Regions from separate parts of the Homo sapiens genome. Here all the other regions are linked to region 5. Evidence: promoter capture Hi-C in 16 types of primary human blood cells and fetal thymus (Javierre and others, 2016). All regions are on one chromosome and are shown on one strand. The core of a region is centred on a gene start or on the middle of the fragment in contact, and the rest is flanking DNA. Distances in the headings are between cores, read along the strand shown. Region 1 overlaps CYB5B (cytochrome b5 type B). Region 2 overlaps TERF2 (telomeric repeat binding factor 2). Region 3 holds the start of CYB5B (cytochrome b5 type B). Region 4 overlaps TERF2 (telomeric repeat binding factor 2). Region 5 holds the start of NQO1 (NAD(P)H quinone dehydrogenase 1). Region 6 overlaps CYB5B (cytochrome b5 type B). Region 7 has its middle 19 kb from the start of TERF2.

Region 1 (3,036 bases), core at 421-2,920, 280 kb after region 5:
TACAGTGAGGACACCTGGGACAACCACAAATTTAGAAATATTCTACAAAATCTTTCTGGACAGGTCTGGCCTGTGATCTCTAAAGATACCACAGTCATGAAAGTCAAAGAAAGAGTGAAGAAACTGTTCCAGATTGAAGGAGGCTAGAGATTCATGACAACTGGGAATAATGGGTGATCCTAGGTTGGTTCCTTTTGCCAATATTATTGAGATAGCTGCAGAAACCTGACTAAGGACTCCAGGCAAAGGGTATATGCAATTCTTTATTCTATTCTTGCAACTTTTCTGTAACTTTGAAATTGTTTCAAATTAAAAAGTTAACTAGGCCAGGCACGGTGGCTCATGCCTGTAATCCCAGCACTTTGGGAGGCCAAGGCGGGCAGATCACTTGAGATCAGGAGTTCAAGACCAGCCTGGCCAACTTGGTGAACCCGTCTGTACTAAAAATACAAAAAGTGCCAGGCATGGTGGTGGTGGGTGCCTGCAGTCCCAGCTACTCAGGAGGCTGAGGCAGGAGAATCACTTAAACCTGTGAGGGGGAGGTTGCAGTGTGCCAAGATCACGCCACTGCACTCCAGCCTGGGCAAAAGAGTGAGACTCTGACTCAAAATAAATGAATAAATAAATAAGTTAACTATATAAAGTAGTGCCTCAGGAAGTAGATTCTATAACTATCAGCTATGTGACCCTGCACAAGTTATTAAAAAATTGAGATGTCTTTAGTTCCTTAGTTGTAAAATGGAAATATTAATAAGAGTACCTGTCTTGACAACTATTGTACATATTAAATGAGATAAGCATATAAAACACTTTGCACTCCAGAAGAGCATAATATAATACCATCTACAATTTTTAAATGAAGATATATATATGCATATTTATACCCATGCATAAAATCTCTCTGAAAATGGTGAAAGAACCTAGTGGCTGGGAGATAGGGTAGAAGGAAGACTTCACCACATACTCTTCTGAAAAAAAATTTTTTTTTTTTGAGATGGAGTTTCGCTCTTGTTGCCCAGGCTGAAGTGCAATGGCACAATCTCAGCTCACCGCAACCTCTGCCACCCGGGTTCAAGCGATTCTCCTGCCTCAGCCTCCCAAGTAGCTGGGATTACAGGCATGCGCCACCATGCCCAGCTAATTTTGTATTTTTAATAGAGACGGGGTTTTTCTCCATGTTGGTCTCGAACTCCCAATCTCAGGTGATCCACCAGCCTCGGCCTCCCAAAGTGCTGGGATTAAAGGTATGAGCCACCATGCCCAGCCTCTGAAACTGTTTTACCAAATAAAGCATTACTTACTCAGAAAATTAACCATTTTGTAAAATTATATTTAGCACAGTCCTTGACTTAAATACTCAAAAAACATTTACTTAAATTAGCAAATTTAGAATTTATATTATTTAATATATCAAAATTTGTATTTTTGAAATATTAATGCTTTTTACTTTTTATAACAACCATTTCAGCAGGAATAAATTATCATTCCTATTTTAAATAAATGTTAATTCAATTGAAGTATAAAAACTGTAAGTGTTACTTCCCAGTCATAGTCACCAGCCTATGAGCTCCCTGAGGATAAGGATAACTTCTATTTTTATCTCCTAAAAGGTCTCCACCCAGTGAGTGGGTCTCACATCCCAGTATTTAAGAATGCTATTTTACAGCAAGAGTAAGACAGCCACGATTCACTTGTTATTATATCTGAAACTCTCAGGTTATTATATGTGAAACTGTTCTTTGTTGTGGAACTAAGTCATCAGTTCTGGAATTATGTCCCAATTTGTTCTATACACCTAAACTATGGATGATATTTTTTCCTTTTGACACAACCCAACTATTGTGTTGCCTTTCAGAGTAAAAGGACAATAAAACTCCTTCATAGATTACAACATTTCAGGGAATGACTGAATTTTTGACTTGCTACACAGTTCTTTCTACAAGTACTTTCACTTTCATCAGTCTCTCACCACTTATAAACAAGAGAAAGCACAACACTTTTTTAAAATATTAAGTAAAAGTTATATATTCGCTGTGGTAAATTTGGAAAAAAGAATAATCAACTAGAGTCCTGGAACAGAAATAAGTCCAGTTAACAATTTGGTGCATAAAACTTCATTTTTCCTGTGTATTCTTTCAATCATTTCAGCCATTAGTCTACAATTTTTTATTGAATCCTTACTATTTTGTGTGGTAGGCAGTGATAAATAAAAGTTTTTTGTGTTCTCACAAAGTGAATTCATGTAGTACATAATGTTTTGTAGCCTGCTTCTTTTTTTTTTTCACTGAAGCAAGTGGGGGTCAGAGTGATCAAACAAAATTCTACGGTTTAATAACTTTCACTCTAAAATATGGTCTTAATAGAGATGGCTTAGAACAAGCAAAAAGACGTCAGGGAGCTTTTGGTTTCTGTTTAGAACTCTATAGTCTCCAGATAGAGTTAGCGAAAATCAAATGGATGCAGGGCTGCCATGGGCCACTGGCAGCCCAGCTGGAGGAGTTGGAATCACTGCACTAGGCCCGAGGCTATAGCAGGGTCCTGGCCAGTCTTAGGCCAAGATAATGCCCAGGCTGAGGAGCATACGAAGGCCTCGACGAAAACCCAAAGAGCCCCGGCACCCCAGGAGAAGCCAGACCAGCTCTCAGTGAAGACAGAGGGTAGGAGCTACTGTCCAACTCCAGCGTCAGCCACTGGATGGTCCCGCCCATGTTTATCATCTGCTTCTTCTCAGATATGATCTGCCACTACATGTTCATCCTGGTACAGAGCGACAAGAAGCTCACCCAGGAGCAAGTATCTGACAGTTAAGTCCTAATTTGAAGCAGAGCCTTCAGTGAAAATGGAAATTACATTCCCAAAAAGTCTTTTTCTTGACATGAGAATATTACATCAACAACCCAGAGGATAAAAATATCACCACTTCCTCCCACTATGCTCTCAGGCATGATGAAAGGAAATATAACAAACGTCATCCCTATGATTCTTACTTGTGAATGGATCAACATTGACATACTCAGGCATTGTTGCAACCAAGGT
Region 2 (3,145 bases), core at 406-2,905, 370 kb after region 5:
ATTCTCCTTGGCCTCTTCTTGATGCTTGCTGAAGTACAGATGCGTGTTACTGTCATGTTAATATTCCAGAAGCTGCTTGTCTCCGAACTAGAAAAAGTTCAGTAAGTTCCCGATCTCATTTTAATTCATGAAGAATCAGTTTTTTTTTTTTTTTCCTTTTTCAGACAGGGTCTTGCTCTGTCACCCAGGCCAGAATGCAGTGGTGTAAACATGGCTCACTGAGCTTCAACCTTCTGGGCTCAAGTGATCCTCCTGCCTCAGCCTCCTGAGTAGCTGGGACTGCAGGTGTGCACCACCACACCTGGCTGTTTTTTTCACTTTTTGTAGAGATGGGGTCTCACTTTGTTGCTCAGGCTGGTCTCAAACTCTTGGGCTCAAGCGATCCTCCCACCTCAGCCTCCCAGAGTGCTGGGATTACAGATGTGAGTCACTGTGCCCTGGTCAAGGAGTCAGTCTGATGTCCTCTCCCATTAAATAATGGAGACTGTCAGAGTAACGCCTTATGTTTAAAGAGAGTTCTTGGTTTTGTTTTAATAACGCCTATGATATTTAATTATAGTTGATGTTCTTCCTAAAATCCTTCAATTAGATGTGGTAGTAGGGGGTCATTCCCTGCATTTCTTGTTTAAAGAAAAAAAAATCTTAACAGTTTCTATATATAAATCCTTTTTTTTTTTTTTTTTTTTTGAGACAGGGTCTCACTCTCATCCAAGGTGGAATGCAGTGGTGTGATCTTGGCTCACTGTAGCCGTGACATCCTGGGCTAAAGCAATTCTCCCACCTTAGCCTCTGGAGTATCGGGGACTACAGGCCCTTGCCACCATGCCCAACTAATCTTTTTTTGTATTTTTAGTAGAGCCAGGGTTTCACCATGTTGGCCAGTATGATCTCGAACTCCTGGGCTCAAGCAATCTGTCTGCCTCATCCTCTCAAAGTGCTGGGACTATACTTGTGAGCCACCATACCATACCCTACCAAAATTGTTTTCTTTTTTTCTTTTTTTTTTTTGAGATGCAGTCTTACTTTGTTGCCCAGGCTGGAGTGCAATGGTGCGATCTCGGCTCACTGCAACCTCCGCCTTCCAGGTTCAAGTGATTCTTATGACTCAGCCTCCTTAGTAGCTGGGATTGCAGGTGTGTCGCACCACGCCCGGCTAATTTTTGTATTTTTAGTAGTCGGGTTTTCACCATGTTGGGCAGGCTGCTCTCAAACTCCTGACCTCAAGTGATCTGCTCGCCTCAGCCTCCCAAAGTGTTGGGATTACAGGTGTGAGCCACCGCCCAGACCCAAATTGTACTTCTATAAAATGAACAAGGACTTGAAAATTCTAGGCTGGGCGTAGTGGCTCATGCCTGTAATCCCAGCACTTTGGGAGGCCGAGGCAGGCGGATTCCTTGAACTCAGGGGTTGGAGACCAGCTTGGGCAAGAGGGCAAAACTCCATGTCTACAAAAAATACAAACAAAAAAAATTTAGGCCAGGAGTGGTGGCTCACGCCTGTAATCCCAGCACTTTTGAAGGCCGAGGCAGGCGGATCACAAGGTCAGAAGTTCGACACCAGCATGGCCAATATGGTGAAACCCTGTCTCTACTAAAAATACAGAAATTAGCCGGGTGTGGTGGCAGGCGCCTGTAGTCCCAGCTACTCAGGAGGCTGAGGCAGGAGAATAGCTTGAACCCGGGAGGCGGAGGTTGCAGTGAGCTGAGATTGCACCACTGCACTCCAGCCTGGGCAAAAAAAAAAAAAAAAAAAAAAAAAAAAAAAATTGGGAATGATAGTAAGAGGAAGATTAAAAAATGAAGGAGAAAAAAAGAAAATTTTAGTACAAAACAGCAAAACCATATGATTTCTTTTTTTTTTTTTTTGAGACAGAGTCTCGCTCTGTTGCCCAGGCTGGGGTGCAGTGGCGCGATCTTGCCTCACCGCAACCTCCACCTCCTGGGTTCAAGTGATTCTCCTGCCTCAACCTCCCGAGTAGTTGGGACTATAGGTATGTGCCACCACTCCCAGCTAATTTTCATATTTTTAGTAGAGAAGGAGTTTTGCCATGTTGTCCAGACTAGTCTCGAACTCCTGACCTCAAGTGATCCGCCCGCCTTGGCCTCCCAAAGTGCTGGGATTACAGGCGTGAGCCACCACACCCAGCCAAAACCATGTGATTTCAAAGCAGTGGTTAGCAAGGGGTTATAATGCAGAAATTATACATATAAACACACCTATAGTCATGTGCCACATAACAAAGTTTTGGTTAACGATGGACTGCATATATGGTGACGGTGGTCCCATTAGGTTATATATAGAGCTGAAAAATTCATATCGCCTAGTGACATTGTAGATGTCATAGGCATTGTAACATTGTAGTGCAATGCATTACTTTGTCTCTGTTTAGATATGTTTAGATACACAATATTTACCATTGTGTCACAGTTGCATGTCACATGCTGTACAGGTTTGTAGCGGAAAAATAGGCTACACCATATATCGTAGGCATATTCCTTTTTTGCAGAGGTTAGCTAAGTTAATAGTAATCGGTAAGATTAAGGGGATTAGGACTGTTATAGCAGTGGAAGAATACATGTTTGTTACTTTTATTTGGAGTTGCACCAATGTTTTTGGTTCCTAAGTCCAGTGGATGACTCTAGTCCTTTAAAAGTTGAGAAAGCCATGTTGTTAGACATGGGGACATGAGTTAGCAGTTGTCAGATACTTTCTCCATAGATAAGAAGTTGCAGGCTAGAGCCTAGGCTCTACCATCTAGGTTTGTGTAAGTCACACAAGGATGAAATCACCAAACGATGCATTTCTCAGAACATATCCCCATTGTTAAGCAACATATGACTGTATATATACATACACACACTAATACCTATATGTATATGTAGACATTATATATACATAAGGGTTTTAAATATGACGTTCCCTCAGTAATTTTAGAAAACGATGTTGGGGCCAGGCATGGTGGTTCACACCTGGAATCCCAGCACTTTGGGAGGCCGAGGTGGGTGGATCACTAGGTCAGGAGATTGATACCACCCTGGCTAACACAGTGAAACCCTATCTCTACTAAAAATACAAAAATTAGCCGGGCACGGTGGCTCATGCCTGTAATCCCAGCACTTTGGAAGGCCGAGATGGGCGGATCATG
Region 3 (3,180 bases), core at 254-2,753, 300 kb after region 5:
GACCGGAAAGCACTTTTAAAAGCATAAAATGCCATACACCATACAAATGCAAGAAGTTAGTAAATTCTGAGTTTGTTAAATTATTGTTCACTATTAAGATTTATTAAAAATAATGTTCTTTGGGGGAAACTTTTAAATTTTAAAAGTTTTTAGAATTAAAAGTCAGGATGCAGAGATTTCTCTTTTAGGCCCCAAATTAATCGAAAAAATATTTCACTAGTATATTTGCTTCAGAGAAATAGAAGTGAACTTTCACAAGTCATTAATCTATTGCTCAAAATAAAATGATCACACACAAACCGAAAATCAAAGCTTCAAACATACACACACCGAAAATCAAAGCTTCAAACCAATCTTTAGCGGCTGCATATCACTAGTTGCCTGGGGTTGGGAGAGAATGACTGCAAAGGGAAAGGAAGCTTTTTAGAATGATGGAAATGGTTTATGTCTTAACATGGATGAATACATTTTTCAAAACTCATCAAAATGTACATTTTAGATAGGCACAATTTACGTATGTACATTACACCTCAATAAAGTTTTAAATATTTAGAAGTCTATCCTGTTTCCTTAAAAAAAAAATTAGTTGCACCATGGTCTCAAAAATAATTTTTAAAATGAGATGTAATGCAACAGACTTGAAGATTAAATAAAACAGTCTTGAATATTTAAGAAAAATGACAAAACATGAGTCAAAAACAAAAAAAAAGGGTTGATTTATGAGTTTCTGGCCTCAAGGTCAACTCAGATTAGGGGGAAAAAAAAACAGTGGAGGCATAATCAAGATGGGGAAGCGTGTGGAGAGAAATCTCAGCTTCTACTCTAGAAGACGAAAACCAAAACCGGTATTACTTCAGAAGGCACACTGGAAAAGCACAGATGTGGGTGCACTTCAGACCTAGGTTCAACGGATCTAAGCTGCTAACTCTATGGCCCTGAGAGTCCTCAACCTGTGAGCCTCAGTTTCCCTTTCTGTAAAATAAAGATAATGATGGCTTAGAGTTTAGCTGAGCACACAGCAAATGCTCGACACATAAGTAATACATGATATTACATAAGGCACCAGAACTCGGAGCTGACTGGAAATGCATGCAAACTAAAGCCCTCCCCCAATCCCACCCCAGTTTCCCTCTGAGGGTCGTGATCCCTTTCTTACGCCTTATCGCCCCCAGCCAAGCCTCCCTTCCTTCCCACATACACTCCACACAGCCTTTTCACCCCTCGCCCCAGCAGCTTCAGAGGCCTCCCACCTCCCAGGCCCCACCTCGTTGAGGAAGCGGGTGACATCGTAGACTCGCCCATGGATCACAAGCCACAGTTCCTTCAAGGAGTTGCGCTTTGCCACCTCCTCCAACCGGTAATAGGTGACTGAGGTCTCGACTTCCTGCCCTTTCCCATCGCTGCCGCTAGCTTCCGCAGTCGCCATTGAACCGGACATACTGCCTCTCCACCGCTAACTGAGATTCCGCGACTACTTTCCTTGAGAGCCCGCGCTCAGCCTTCCTCGGCTTCCGTAACCAGGGCCCATAAGGCCTTGAGACGGTTCCTAGCAACAGCCAATCACACTTCCGAATAGTTCCTGGTTCGTTTTCTTTTCACCAATGAAGGGAGTGGCTCAGTTCGAAATCCCGCCCACTCCTCGCCCGATCCTCCAGATGAAAGTCTGGTTCGAGGTCCAACTAACCAATTAGGGTCGTTCAGCCCCCTCCAACCTCGCCAATCAGATACCGCGATTTTTGGACTGGCGCCCAAAAGAGGCGTGCTGACAGGTGTCACTTCAGGAGAGGTACCACTTCTCTCAGCCTGTGGGCCTTTAGGGTCTCCAGTGTTCTGCTTCCCTTCCCATCGCTGTGGCTTTCTCCTGAGTCTCAGAAAGTTCCTATCCCCTACACTACCGGCGCAGCCTGTATCCCAACCCTGATTTTACATCTTTGCTGCCTCCAGGTCGTGATCTGGCCAATCCCGTCTCTCCTCAATTTCCCCATCAGTAAAATGGGCTTGATAAAGCACTCTCTTACAGAGGGGTTTGCCTTTTTTTTTTTTTTTTTTTTTTTTGAGACAAGTTCTCGCTCTGTCTCCTAGGCCAGAGTGCAGTGGCACGATCTCGGCTTACTGCAAACTCCGCCTCCCAGGTTCAAGCGATTCTCCTACCTCAGCCTCTCGACTAGCTGGAACTACAGGCATGCGCCACCACGCCCGGCTAATTTTTGTATTTTTAGTAGAGAGTAGGTTTCACCATGTTGGCCAGGCTGGTCTCGAACTCCTGACCTCAGGTGATCCGCCTGCGTAGGCCTCCCAAAGTGCTGGGATTACAGGCGTGAGCCACCGCGCCTGGCCCGGTTTGCCTATTTTAATGAGAGTGCCTGTAAAGCGCTTGGCGCATAGTAATCGCTAAACATGGCAGTCGATTAGAAAGGCAATTGCTGTCCCGGACAGCAATTGGGGGTAGAATGTGGAGTATCCTATGTTTCTACCATCATTCAGAATCCGATTTTCAAACGAATTCTGTGATGATCAGGATCAATCGGCACTATTTTAGTCTCTACGTGATCTAAAATAGAATTGAACTCAACTGCTCTCCGCTAGAGGTCCCAGCACTTTGGAATTCCAAGTTTGGTTAAGGTACAGTGTTGTGCGCCACTTTTTAACTGCCATTACAACTGACAGATTGCTCTTCCTATGATGTCGTCGTTTTCATCCTGTCACTCTCGCAGTCTACCATTCAGGGCTCTCCACAATCCATTCGCAACCTCTTTCACTAACGTATAATATTTTCCACCATTCCCTTTATAAGCCTGTTGCACCCGCCCCGACTCTGAAACCTGCTGGTTTAAAACCACATCCGTGGTCATCCCAGGTCCACCAAGTTAATTTTAGATCACTTAGAGACTAAAATAGTGCAGATTGATCCTGATCATCACAGAATTCATTTGAAAATCGGATTCTGAATGGTGGTAGAAACATGGGATACTCCACATTCTACCCTCAATTGCTGTCCCAAGGACTCCTCTTCCTTTCAATGCCTACCGGCTTTTCAAGTTCCTCTTCAGTTTCTTCTATTTTCAAACTTCTCCTACCGTTTTGAGCTCCAGTGCTTCCATCCCTTTGTAGTACCTAAGAAAGCATATTACTATTTTGGGAAGCCTGCTACGTCTGTAAATTTTAACTTTACGTATTTTA
Region 4 (3,048 bases), core at 10-2,509, 340 kb after region 5:
AGAAAAATCTAAGCTCTCAGAGTAGCCATTTTCTTACGTTGACTCTGTTCTCCTTTTCCAGTCTCCACCACGTACTAGATCTTATGCTTATTGTTACTGCAGTGTAACAAGTTACTCCAAGAATAAGCAGCTCAAAACAGTTAATATTATCTTTCAGTTTCCGAGGATCAGGAGTCTATTAGTGATTCTGGCTCAGGGTTTCTCATGAGGTTACAGTCAAGCTGTCAGCTAGGTTTGCAGTCATTTCAAGACTCAACTGCTTCCCTACTCACATAGTTGTTAACAAGACTCACTTTCCTACTGGCTGTTGGCTGGACACTTCAGCTCCTGGCCTCTTCACAGATAAGGCTGCTTGCAACATGGCAGCTTTGTTTTCCTACAGCAAATCATGCAAGAGAGCAAGAACCCAAGGCAGAAGTCTCATTCTTGTAGAGTCTAATCTTGGAAGTGACACATTATCACTTCCACCATATGCTCTTGGTCATACAGACTAGACTCACTCTGGTAGAGTGTGAATGGGACTCCGCAAGAGGTGAGGCGCATTGGGGGCTGCCTTTGAGGTTGGCAACCACAATTACCTTGATCTCCTAGTTGTTAAATGATATTATTTCATCCATCTCTTCAATTTACTTTGTAAAAGTTTCTCATTTACAGTCACGGAATCTGTTAATGATCGGGAAAATTCTACAGACGCCTAGGTTCAGTGAGCCTTGCTCATGCATTTAAGCTTTGTAAAGTGCCAAAACAATTTATTTAAAAGTATATTGAATCTTTCGCAAAGTTTATCAAGTAAGTTATTTGTTAAGTTAGAACCCTCAGTGCATGGTCTAGGGATCTCTGGAGGTCCCCAGGACCCTTTCAGAGAAGCCATGAGGTCAAAACTGTTTTCATAAGCAGAACCAAAACATTATTTGACTTTTTCAATGCATTGGCATTTGCATTGATGGTACAAAAGCAAGGATGAGTAAAATGGGTGATTCCTTAGCGTGATCAAGATGGTAGTAATTGTACTAGTAGTCATTGTATTCTTCACTGCCACAATTTTTTTTAAAACTACCAATTTTAATTAAGAATGTTAGTCACAGTTGTTTAAAAGCTCAGAACTCCCATTAAAAAAAAATTTAAAAAAGAATGTCTTTGGTAAAGCAGCAAAAACTGGATGAATTTTATTAACTCTAGAGCCTTGAGTAAACATCTTTTCAGGATTTTGTGTGTTGAAATAGAAAGTATGGGCCAGGTGCAGTAGCTCATACCTGTAATCCTAGCACTTTGGGAGGCTGACGTGAGTGGATCGCTTGAGCCTAGGAGTTCCAGACCAGCCTGGGTAACATAGTGAAACCCTGTCTCTACAAAAATACAAAAAATTAGCTGGGTGTGGTGGTGTGCACCTGTGGTGTCAGCTACTTGGGAGGCTGAGGCAGAAGGATCACCTGAGCCTGGGAGGTGGAGGTTGCAGTAAGCTGATATCATACCTCTGTACTCGAGCCTGGACGACAGAGTGAAGACCCTGTCAAAAAAGAAAAAAAAAAAAATAAGAGGAAGTATGACTAAAATGTTTCTGCTGCATACCAAAACATGATGGTTACCAGGAAAAGCACTTGTGTTATTATTAGAGTTGCATGCTGAACTAGCTGCTTTTTTATGGAATACTATTTTACCTGAAGAACAACTGACAAATTACAGTTGTTCACACTTGGGTATTTGGCAGTCATTTTCTTGAGAATGAGTAAAGCAAACCTGTCACATAAAACAAGTGACAGTATTTGTTGCCAGTGATAAAGTTTAAGCTTTCTAGTGAAAAACAGAATTTTGGAAAACTTGTATTCATGTGCTTGATAGCTTCCCAATACTTAGTCTTTTCTGAAGATTGGTAATATTAACAACTGACATTTAAAAAATATTTTTTAGGCTGGGCGCGGTGGCTCACGCCTGTAATCCCAGCACTTTGGGAGGCCAAGGCAGGTAGATCACCTGAGGTCAGGAGTTTGAGACCAGCCTGGCCAACATAGTGAAACCTCGTCTCTACTAAAAATACAAAAAAAATTAGCCAGGCGTGGTGGTGGGCACCTGTAATCCCAGCTACTCGGGAGACTGAGGCAGGAGAATTGCTTGAACCCGGGAGGAGGAGGTTGCCGTGAGCCGAGATCACACCACTGCACTCCAGCCTGGGAAACAGTGAGACTCCATCTCAGAAAAAAAAAAAAAAAAATTAATGAATGTGTCAATATTTGAAGATCTTCATAACTCAGTGAACCAGTATTTTCCAGATGACCAATGCATGATGTTATGAAGTCATCCATGGATGAAAGATCTATTTAAACTACAAGATAGACTGATGGATTTTTTTTTTTTTTTTAGACGTAGTCTCTCTCTGTCGCCCAGGCTGGAGTATAGTGGCGTGATCTCGGCTTACTGCAAGCTCCGCCTCCTGGGTTCAAGCAGTTCTACACCTCAGCCTCCCAAGTAGCTGTTATTACAGGCGCCCACCACCACCCCTGGCTAATTTTTGTATTATTATTAGAAATGGGTTTCACCATCTTGGCCAGGCTGGTCTTGCACTCCTGACCTCATGATCCACCCGCCTTGGCCTCCCAAAGTGCTGGGATTACAGGAGTGAGCCACTGCGCCCAGCTGACTGATGGATTTTAATGTGACAGATTAAGAAAAGTTTACTTACTGCAGTTTCGTGTAGAATCAAACAAGAATAGCCACAGTTTTCTGAAAAAGCTATTAAAATACTCCTCCATTTTCAGCTTCGTATGTGTATAAAGCCAGATTTTTAAAAATGCCTTAACCAAGGGTAGGGCATGGTGGCTCACACCTGTAATCTCAGCACTTTGGGAGGCTAAGACGGGTGGATCACTTGAGGTCAGAAGTTTGAGACTAGGCTGGCCAGTATGGTGAAACCCTGTCTCTACCAAAAATACAAAAATTAGCCGGGTGTGTGGCCCGAGCCTGTAATCCCAGCTACTCGGGAGGCTGAGGCATGAGAATCGCTTGAACCCAGGAGGCGAGGAGGCTGCAGTGAGCTGAGATCACATCACTGCA
Region 5 (2,954 bases), core at 315-2,814:
GCCTGGCTGCTGGCCACATTTCCAGTGCTCAATAGCTACTTGAAGCTTGTGGCTACCTTACTTGGGCAGCACAGATAGGGAAAGTTCTATTGGACAGGGCTGCCTACCTAGCCCTTTTTTAAAACGTCCTTTTATACTATTTTGTCAGATGGGGTCTCACTTTGTTGCTCAGGCTTTTCTCAAACTCTTGGGCTCAAGTGATCCTCCTGCCTCAGCCTCCCAAAGTAATTTGTAAATACGTGTAAATAATATAGTCCTCTCTTGTTGCATCAAAATGAATGCAAAAATGTCACGATGGGGCCGGGCGCGGTGGCTCATGCCTGTAATCCCAGCACTTCGGGAGGCCGAGGCGGTAGGATCACCTGAGGTCGGGAGTTGGAAACCAGTTTTCTGGTGCCTCCTTAACTTTTGCACTGGAGGGACAACGGAAGGGCCCTGTGTCATCCTCACCTCCCCCATCTGTGATTCTTCTGATGGTTAATTACCACTTTAAAGCTCTAGTTCTTTTTCCTTCACCTACTGAGAGTATATCTCCTTCTTTACAGTAACTTTTACTTTATAGAGTTTTTTTTGAGACGGAGTCTCACTTCGTCACCCAGGCGGGAGTGCAGTGGCACGATCTCGACCCACTGCAACCTCCGCCTTCCGGGTTCAAGCGATTCTCCTGCCTCAGCCTCCCGAGTAGCTGGGACTTACAGGCGCCCGCCATCACGCCCAGCTAATTTTTCAGTACAGACGGGGCTTCACCAGGTTGGCCAGGCTGGTCTCGAACTCCTGACCTCAGGTGATCCACCCACCTCGGCCTCCCATATTGCTGGGATTACAGGCGTGAGCCACCGCGCCTGGTCCCGTTTTGGCTATTCTTTAATATGCTTCCCTATAACTGCTATCTCCACACCAGCCTTGCCTTAGCTCATGGGAAACAAAACCAATTAGTTCCCCCATTACCTGCCTTGAGGAGCAGGGGTGGTGCAGTGGCATGCACCCAGGGAAGTGTGTTGTATGGGCCCCCAAGTGCAGAATCTGAATCTTGCAAAGGAAGAAACAAATTCGTCTCCACGGAGCATGTCTCCCCAGGACTCTCAGCCTTCCAAATCCGCAGTCACAGTGACTCAGCAGAATCTGAGCCTAGGGCACCACAGTAATCCGCATCCGGCTCTTTTTCTGCTCCATTTCGTGCCAAGGCTAAAAGGGCATGCCCACTTGATCCCTGGACTCTCTTGGGACGACTTCCACCCTGCATCCTCTTGCACCTCAGGGCACAGTGCGCAGATGGGCTTGCCTTAGCACCCCCAGCCAGATTTTTGAGGCCTCTGTCACACACACCCCTACAATCCCCTCCCCCAGCCCCGAGAGACTTTTCTTGACTTCCACCAGTTGCTCCGGCGGGTGAGAGTGGAGAGGCCCCTCCTTCATCCCCCAGGCTCCCTCCCTTCCTGGAGCTGCAGCCTCAGCATCCTCCGCCCAGCACCCCAGGATTCAGGCGTTGGGTCCCGCCCTTGTAGGCTGTCCACCTCAAACGGGCCGGACAGGATATATAAGAGAGAATGCACCGTGCACTACACACGCGACTCCCACAAGGTTGCAGCCGGAGCCGCCCAGCTCACCGAGAGCCTAGTTCCGGCCAGGGTCGCCCCGGCAACCACGAGCCCAGCCAATCAGCGCCCCGGACTGCACCAGAGCCATGGTCGGTGAGTGCTGCAAAGGGCGGGGTGCTTGGCGGTCGTCTCTCGAGCACTGGTGCCTGTGGAGGAGGTTGTAGGGGCTTGGCCCTGAATTTTGTTCCTTGACTCAAAACCCACAAAGGGAAGAGATTAGGGACCTGGGATGAGCCTTGATCGGACTCCGGGAGAAGGAGAGCTTCTGTTTGTATCCGGTGTCGCGGATCCTTCCTCACTCCACCCCACGAACTCTAGTGGGCATTTAGGAGAAACTTGACCTTGGAAGCAGAAATTCCCTCCAAAACTGTGGTCAGAAACTGGCCGTCAGAGGCCAAATCAGGCTTACGGTCACAGCCCATACCTCTTTTGGTCTATAGTATCTAAAACACTTTGAAATAAGTTGCTAACATTAAAATGGGTGATTTCACTTAAAAATGTGGATTCCGAGCTTCTGAAGAAAATGAGAATATCTGGCGATTGGTGGACAGGAGTGGAGGAAACTGATGCCTTTGGTTTGACGGAGACCAGAACCGGCTCCAGGCTGCCAGGCACAGGTTTTGTTTTGTTTTGTTTTGTTTTGTTTTGTTTGAGACGGAGTTTTGCTCTTGTCGCCCAGGCTGTAGTGCAATGGCGCTATCTCAGCTCAGCGAAACTTCCGCCTCCCGGGTTCAAGCGATTCTCCCATCTCAGCCTCCCGAGTAGCTGGGATTACAGGAGTGCGCCATCATGCGCGGCTAATTTTTATATTTTTAGTACAGACGGGTTTCGCCAAGTTGGCCAGCGCGGTCTTGAACTCCTGACCTCAGGTGATCCACCCACCTCAGCCTCCCCAAGTGCTGAGATTACTGACGTGAGCCACCGTGCCTGGCCTTGGGAGGCATTTTCCATTGAGGCCCTTGGATTAGGCAAACCTGATCAGATCGTACTGGATCCGTTTCTAGTATTGGGTCCACTTCAGTGATAGAGCCTTCCCACTCGGCCATCGACCCTAGGGGAACTCAGAGGTCACCCCAGCTCCACCCAAGGCATAAATAACCAGCTGAGACAACTGCAGGGATTGAGAGCTGTTTCCCAAATAATCTCACTCTGAGATTGGACAGTACTAAGATTTAGAAAGCTGTTGCCTCATCTGGGGCAGAATCCTGTGTTTTGTAATTTCCTTCCCTGTGGACCTGGTCCTGCCTCTAAAAATGCGCCTGTACACAAAGAAGCCCATCTTGGTCAAAGTGAGTGGAGGAACAGACTGCCCTTGCAGTTGACAAACTGAAATTATCAGGATCTCTGAGAAAGGGA
Region 6 (2,836 bases), core at 80-2,579, 260 kb after region 5:
CAGGGAGAAAAATCACCACAGTTGCTGGCAGAAAACAGCCAGTGTACTATTTATTTCCTCAAGTGCTTCCATGGGGGAAAAAATAAAAGTCTAATATGCCAGAGAAATCATCATTGAACCAATAAGACACAGTAACATAATTCTAGTAACCTACTTCTCAATGAACACACATCTGAGAAAAAAACCGCCAGTATTTTATTCTCATGGAAAAACAGAACAAACCCACAAGTTGGAGTCACGGAGATAAAATACAGATGAAATGGAAAACGGTCTGTTGTCATGAACTCTCACTTTCAAATACCATTTTATATGGAAGTTACTTTACTGCGGGGCAAACAGAAGGCCATGCTGGAGTCTCTTACTTTTGGAAAATGGAGAATCAAAAATTTGCTAATCAACAAACAAAAAAGGAGGGAAACTCCTTGGTAAAGCTCTACAAACATAATTATACATTTATATTTTACCAATAAAAGATAGCTAGGGTAGAAAAAACAGATGGTTAGAAACTGGTGCCAAACCAAAGTGAAAGCTTTGGTGCCTTCTCTAAACTCCTATCCTGTTTCTTTAGAAAACACCAGTTTTCTAAAGAAAGATTACTCTGAATTCACCAGGGTTCTATCACCCCAATTCATCCCTACCTTTCCACCCCCAAGACACGAAAGGGCCATGTAGTTTTTTGTCCGGCACCACTTGGGAAGGGGCTGGGCTCAGGGGCTGGGAAGAGCTACCTGCTGCCCTAGCTTGAAAGGGAGGAGGTGGCCACACCATTCTTTGTATTTTTATCACGCACATAAAAGAACAAAAATCATTTGGCAGTTTTAAGTTTAATAGGTGCAAACCTTTACTTCAGGAATTAAACCCCTTATGATAAATAAAAGAATTAAATCAGATTTTTTTTTAATACAGATAGGGGTCTCGCTATGTTGCCCAGGCTGGTCTTGAACTCTTGGCCTCAAGCGATCTTCCCACCTTGGCCTCCCAAAGTGCCAGGATTACAGGCCTGAGCCACCACACCTAGCCCTAAATCAGAATTTTTTAAAAAAAATTTACTTAAAAGAAAAATGGAAAAATAAAACTTTCAACACTAGACTGCCGCCCTGTTAAGAATGTCTAATATGCAATCAAAGTATTGGAAAGCAGGCATTTTTACCAAAGAGCAATGTCACTATAACTTATGAACAGAAAGTTGTGAAATATAAGGGTACTCATGGAAACCAGTGAAGAGAGGAAACACCGGCAATTGTTCAACACGGAACAGTGAGCAGGTACTTTGGGAGTAAGGCTCTGAGAGATGGAAGACGCTGGTCTCAGATCTGAGGTGATGTCTGGCCAATCGTCTTGGCTCCAAGGGGGAAGAATGCAACTGGCAGGATTCGAGGAGAGGGCACTTCTGCAGCCCCCAAGCAAGTCTCTAGTTTTCGCCCCAAAGTGGATGCACTTTCTAACTTCAGCAAGGCCTCCTCAGGAGGATTTGCTTTCCGATGTGTAGTAGCGGTACAGGAAACCTAAGAGAACAGCGCCTATGATGGGTAAAATCCAATATGCCCAGCAACTAGGAATAGGGGGAGAAAGCAATAAAGTTGTTAATATTTTAAGCCAAATGTTCACTATCTTTCAGCTTTCACATGTTTTTATATAGGCAAGGAGTTTTTATTTACTTTGGGAAATTTAACTGCTTTTATCACAAAGTAGTTGGGGAAAAATATTTGAATTGGAGTGACAATATTACAAAGTAATTTTTTAAAAGGTTAAAAACAACCAATAGTATGATATCAAATAAGATGTCTTTAAATGCCTCTATATGTGTTTCTACAAAGTCATATAGTGGTTATTTCTGAGTTAGGGATTATGGATACTCTCACATTTTCTTCATTGTGCTTTTGCTTTTCACGTATTCTACAATTAAACATTTTTAAACAGGAAAAAACACCATTATGTATGTGACATTTCATATATGTATAAAAACATATCCATCCCAATATAAATTTGGAAGTAATCATATCTAATATAACTACCAGAAATATCCTATCTGCTTCATATGTATTTTAAAGATTTAATCCTTATGAAATAGGATAACCTACGAAATAGGGTTATTATTCTCATCTCATACAAGGGAAATATAAGCTTTGCACCCCAAATCCCAAAGCTAGAAAGGCAGCTGGACAGTCTGATTCCAAACCCATCCTCTTAATCCCTAGTTAAGTTTGGACACTAATAAGGATACACATACACACAAAGCATATACAGTTCTAACAGGGTGAAGCAAATGGCAGCTTCAAAAGTACTGCAAGAGACCTTCCTTAGGAGCTTCAGAACAGTCATCATTCTCCTTAACATAATAATTCTTTAATAGAACTTATTAGCACACTAGTTTTAAGGTATAATTCTTCCATGATCCAAATGACCCGGCTGCCCCTCTACTTAAGACATATGAGTCTTGGTATTAAAAGGTTTTGAAGTCAATAAAACGAGCTGAAGTTCATAAGAAAAATGATTCTCTTTGCCTAAACATGCCTAGCACTCTGTATGCTTACGTACAGCAGAAAGCTACTCTGGACTAGTTTAGAATATCAGCCAGGTAGCTTTGTTTACAAAACCAAGCAATATGGCACGTATAACAGCAATATGCACATGGGAACTCTGAAGTAATCTCCTGATAAGAGTAATGAATTCAGACTCCTTGAAGAGTAACCGCAAGAGACTGAAGAATCCAAAAGTAGGATCCTTGAGAAAACATTGAAGGAGAAAATTTCTTTCTTTCTTTCTTTTTTTTTTTTTTGAGACGGAGTCTCATTGTCACCCAGGCCGGAGTGCGGTGGCGCGATCTTGGCTCACT
Region 7 (2,778 bases), core at 59-2,558, 320 kb after region 5:
TTACAATGTAGGAAATGCTAGCGAAAGTGTCTACCAGAGGATAGAGAGGTTAAAGTTCGGCCACCCTCTTTTTCTTTATATATAATGGGTGAGAGTTGGAGGTGGGAAAGGGAGAAAGAGAATCCCACCCAAACCAAAGAGGATGTTTGGACAAGTTAATCTGCGGAAAGCTCTAGAAATTTGATGCAGGGTGATGAAAAAGCTGTGGCATGATAACATCTAGTGTTTGATTAAGCCTTTCCTCTAGGCTGGATGTCATACTTAGCACTTTACATACATTGTAGCAATTCTAGTGGGTACTATTGTTATTCCCATCTTACAGATGATGAAACTAACACTGAGAGGAGTTAGAAACTTGCCCAAGGGTCCTGCTGGTAGAGCCAGGATTTGACATCAGGGCATTCTGAACCCTATATTTGCTAACCACTATGCCCTTCCTTTCTAGCTAAAGACCTGGGTTTGAATCTAGCTCTGTTACTTGCTGGTTGAGTGACCTTGAGCAAATCAACCTCTTTGAGCCTGTTGCCTCATGTAGAAAATTCAGGGAGTAGGCCGGGCGTGGTGGCTCACACCTGTAATCCCAGCACTTGGGAGGCCGAGGCAGGCAGATCACAGGGTCAAGAGATCGAGACCATCCTGGCTAACCAACATGGTGAAACCCCATCTCTACTAAAAATACAAAAATTAGGTGGGCGCAGTGGTGCATGCCTGTAGTCCCAGCTACTCAGGAGGCTGAGGCAGGAGAATCACTTGAACCCGGGAGGCAGAGGTTGCAGTGAGCCAAGATCGAGCCACTGCACTCCAGCCCAGGCAACAGAGCAAGACTCTGTCTCAAAAAAAAAAAAAAAAAAGAAGAAGACAGAAAGAAAGAAGGAAGGAAGGAAGGAAGGGAAAATTCAGGGATTATACTAAATAATTTGTTTTCTCTCTTTCAACTCTAACATTTCAAAAATTATAATATCCCCAATCCCCCAAACTAGGATTTGTATTCCTGGCTTGAACTTTTTTCGCTCAAGACCCTATAGATTGGTTTTCCCATGGATTTCGGATCAAAAGCTTCCTTTGAATTATGTATTCCTTTGAAACGGATTCAAATGCAGGGGGATCTGAAAAGACTTCATCCTTGCTGAGTGAATCAGCATCCCGTGAACACAGGTGACAAGTTCTGACCCATCCCTTCACTGTCTGATAAGCCCAAAGGTCATGCTCTGGACTCAAACCTACTCTTCCTTCTTCCTGCCCATTTTGTGGGTTTTCTGATAAGGTGCCCTAAGGCAGCTGTAACACTGTTTTCTCTCCCTACAAACACAGTCCCCAGGGCGTGCACTCTGCCTGCAAACTTCCCAGCTGCTTCCAGCTCTCCCTCTGCCCACAGCCCTTTATTGCTGCATTCCAACAAATTAGCCATGTGACAGATTATTTTTAACTTCAATAGAGCAGCTCCCTCTCTTTTAATATATCATGCTTGGCCCACATTCCCTCGGTGAAAAGGGCACCATCGGCTACTTCTGAGAACTTTTAATTACTCCAATTGTTTGCAAAACTCTCTTAGAAGCTTGGGAAAAAAATATTGCAAGCTACAGTTCTGATTACAAGAAGAAAAGAAAATACATTTCTTTCTCCGTTCCTCTCCAGTCCCCTTACTCTCCAGTTTTCTTATTTAGTGGAGACCTGGGAATTTTCCAGGTCTTCTCAAATCCCCTCTACCCCCCTGCCACCCATTATCTAAGAGCAGGTTTTTTTAAGTATAAGTCCATCTCGAAAAAAGCTAAAGAAAAAAAGTAATAAAGTGCAAATCTAATTGGGAGGAAGGGAGGGCAGTTTCCTGAGTAACAGAGACCCCCACCCCGATCCCACACAGAACCCTAGCAGGTGAAGGATGGCAGCTCCCAAAGCACTGAATGCCCAGCCATCCTAGGTCTTGGAAGTCTCCAAGAGGGTCCTGGAGGTTGAGCTTGACACTGAGGTTGAACCTTCTATCTTGAAGTCAACTGCACGTAAACAATGAGCATCTCAGTAACCACCGCATGGGCCAAAGGCCCTTCTCCAAGTTTTCTGAACTTTCTAAATCCCAGATACTTCTCTAATTTCTTTTTCTTTCTTTCTTTTTTTTCTTTTCTTTTTTTTTTTTTTTTTTTTTTGAGATAGAGATGGAGTTTCGCTTTTTCGCCCAGGCTGGAGTGCAATGGCGCCATCTCAGCTCACTGCAACCTCTGCCTCCCGGGTTCAATCGATTCTCCTGCCTCAGCCTCCCGAGTAGCTGTGATTACAGGCGCCCACCATCACGCTCAGCTAATTTTTGTATTTTTAATAGAGACGAGGTTTCACTATGTTGGCCAGGCTGGTCTTGAACTCCTGACATCAGGTGATCCACCCACCTCGGCCCACAGGCATGAGCCACTGCACCTGGCCCATATAGTGTTCTATTGCTAATGTAAAATAAAAAAATAAAAGGAGGGGAGAAAATATAAATGTGTTATTTTATTTTTAAAATTTTTTTGGAGACAGAGTCTCATCCTGTCATCCAAGCTGGAGTGCACTGGCACGATCTCAACTCACTGCACTTTCCACCTCCCGGGTTCAAGAGATTCTCATGCTTCAGCCTCCCAAGTAGCTGGGACTACAGGCATGCGCCACCACACCTGGGTAATTTTTTGTATTTTAGTAGAGACGGAGTTTCACTACATTGGCCAGGCTGGTCTTGAACTCCTGAGCTCAGGCAATCTACCCGCCTCTGCCTCCCAAAGTGCTAGCATTATAGGCGTGAGCCACCATGCT

Evidence for each region. The method cuts DNA at HindIII sites, captures the fragments that hold promoters and counts their contacts. A CHiCAGO score of 5 or more calls a contact.
Region 1: a fragment that was not itself captured here is called in contact with the fragment with the promoter of NQO1 in region 5 in 1 of 17 cell types (activated CD4 T cells); the score reaches 5.3 in activated CD4 T cells.
Region 2: a contact is called between a fragment that was not itself captured here and the fragment with the promoter of NQO1 in region 5, in 1 of 17 cell types (activated CD4 T cells). The highest score is 7.0, in activated CD4 T cells.
Region 3: the fragment with the promoter of CYB5B here is called in contact with the fragment with the promoter of NQO1 in region 5 in 2 of 17 cell types (neutrophils and activated CD4 T cells); the score reaches 5.8 in neutrophils.
Region 4: a contact is called between a fragment that was not itself captured here and the fragment with the promoter of NQO1 in region 5, in 2 of 17 cell types (endothelial precursors and activated CD4 T cells). The highest score is 6.3, in endothelial precursors.
Region 6: a contact is called between a fragment that was not itself captured here and the fragment with the promoter of NQO1 in region 5, in 1 of 17 cell types (activated CD4 T cells). The highest score is 7.2, in activated CD4 T cells.
Region 7: a contact is called between a fragment that was not itself captured here and the fragment with the promoter of NQO1 in region 5, in 3 of 17 cell types (activated CD4 T cells, megakaryocytes and naive B cells). The highest score is 8.9, in activated CD4 T cells.

What each region holds. Positions count from the first base shown.
Region 1 is chr16:69,443,912-69,446,947 of GRCh38, reverse strand. All of the region lies in intron 1 of CYB5B (cytochrome b5 type B), which reads right to left. It also overlaps the pseudogene LOC100420066. Among named protein-coding and RNA genes, the nearest start is that of CYB5B, 21 kb to the right of the region's middle. RefSeq lists enhancers at 2,445-2,704, 2,735-2,814. The HindIII fragment of the contact is 3,851 bases long and covers 1-3,036 here.
Region 2 is chr16:69,358,248-69,361,392 of GRCh38, reverse strand. The region is part of intron 8 of TERF2 (telomeric repeat binding factor 2); the gene reads left to right. Among named protein-coding and RNA genes, the nearest start is that of TMED6, 8.0 kb to the right of the region's middle. RefSeq lists a silencer at 2,611-2,811. The HindIII fragment of the contact is 7,774 bases long and covers 1-3,145 here.
Region 3 is chr16:69,422,942-69,426,121 of GRCh38, reverse strand. It overlaps CYB5B (cytochrome b5 type B), which reads right to left and starts at 1,503. Exons shown (of 5, transcript NM_030579.3): 1 at 1,265-1,503. The coding sequence starts at 1,438. RefSeq lists enhancers at 1,125-1,672, 1,673-2,220. The HindIII fragment of the contact is 7,938 bases long and covers 422-3,180 here.
Region 4 is chr16:69,379,964-69,383,011 of GRCh38, reverse strand. All of the region lies in intron 3 of TERF2 (telomeric repeat binding factor 2), which reads left to right. Among named protein-coding and RNA genes, the nearest start is that of TERF2, 4.5 kb to the left of the region's middle. The HindIII fragment of the contact is 1,060 bases long and covers 730-1,789 here.
Region 5 is chr16:69,725,170-69,728,123 of GRCh38, reverse strand. NQO1 (NAD(P)H quinone dehydrogenase 1) reads left to right here and starts at 1,564. Exons shown (of 6, transcript NM_000903.3): 1 at 1,564-1,691. The coding sequence starts at 1,685. It overlaps NQO1-DT (NQO1 divergent transcript), which reads right to left and starts at 1,397. Exons shown (of 2, transcript NR_186363.1): 1 at 949-1,397. RefSeq lists enhancers at 95-1,088, 1,297-1,556, 803-2,002, 1,089-2,081. The HindIII fragment of the contact is 8,732 bases long and covers 48-2,954 here.
Region 6 is chr16:69,461,146-69,463,981 of GRCh38, reverse strand. It overlaps CYB5B (cytochrome b5 type B), which reads right to left. Exons shown (of 5, transcript NM_030579.3): 5 at 1-1,552. The coding sequence ends at 1,462. Among named protein-coding and RNA genes, the nearest start is that of CYB5B, 38 kb to the right of the region's middle. The HindIII fragment of the contact is 1,595 bases long and covers 532-2,126 here.
Region 7 is chr16:69,403,119-69,405,896 of GRCh38, reverse strand. No RefSeq gene overlaps it. Among named protein-coding and RNA genes, the nearest start is that of TERF2, 19 kb to the right of the region's middle. The HindIII fragment of the contact is 499 bases long and covers 1,059-1,557 here.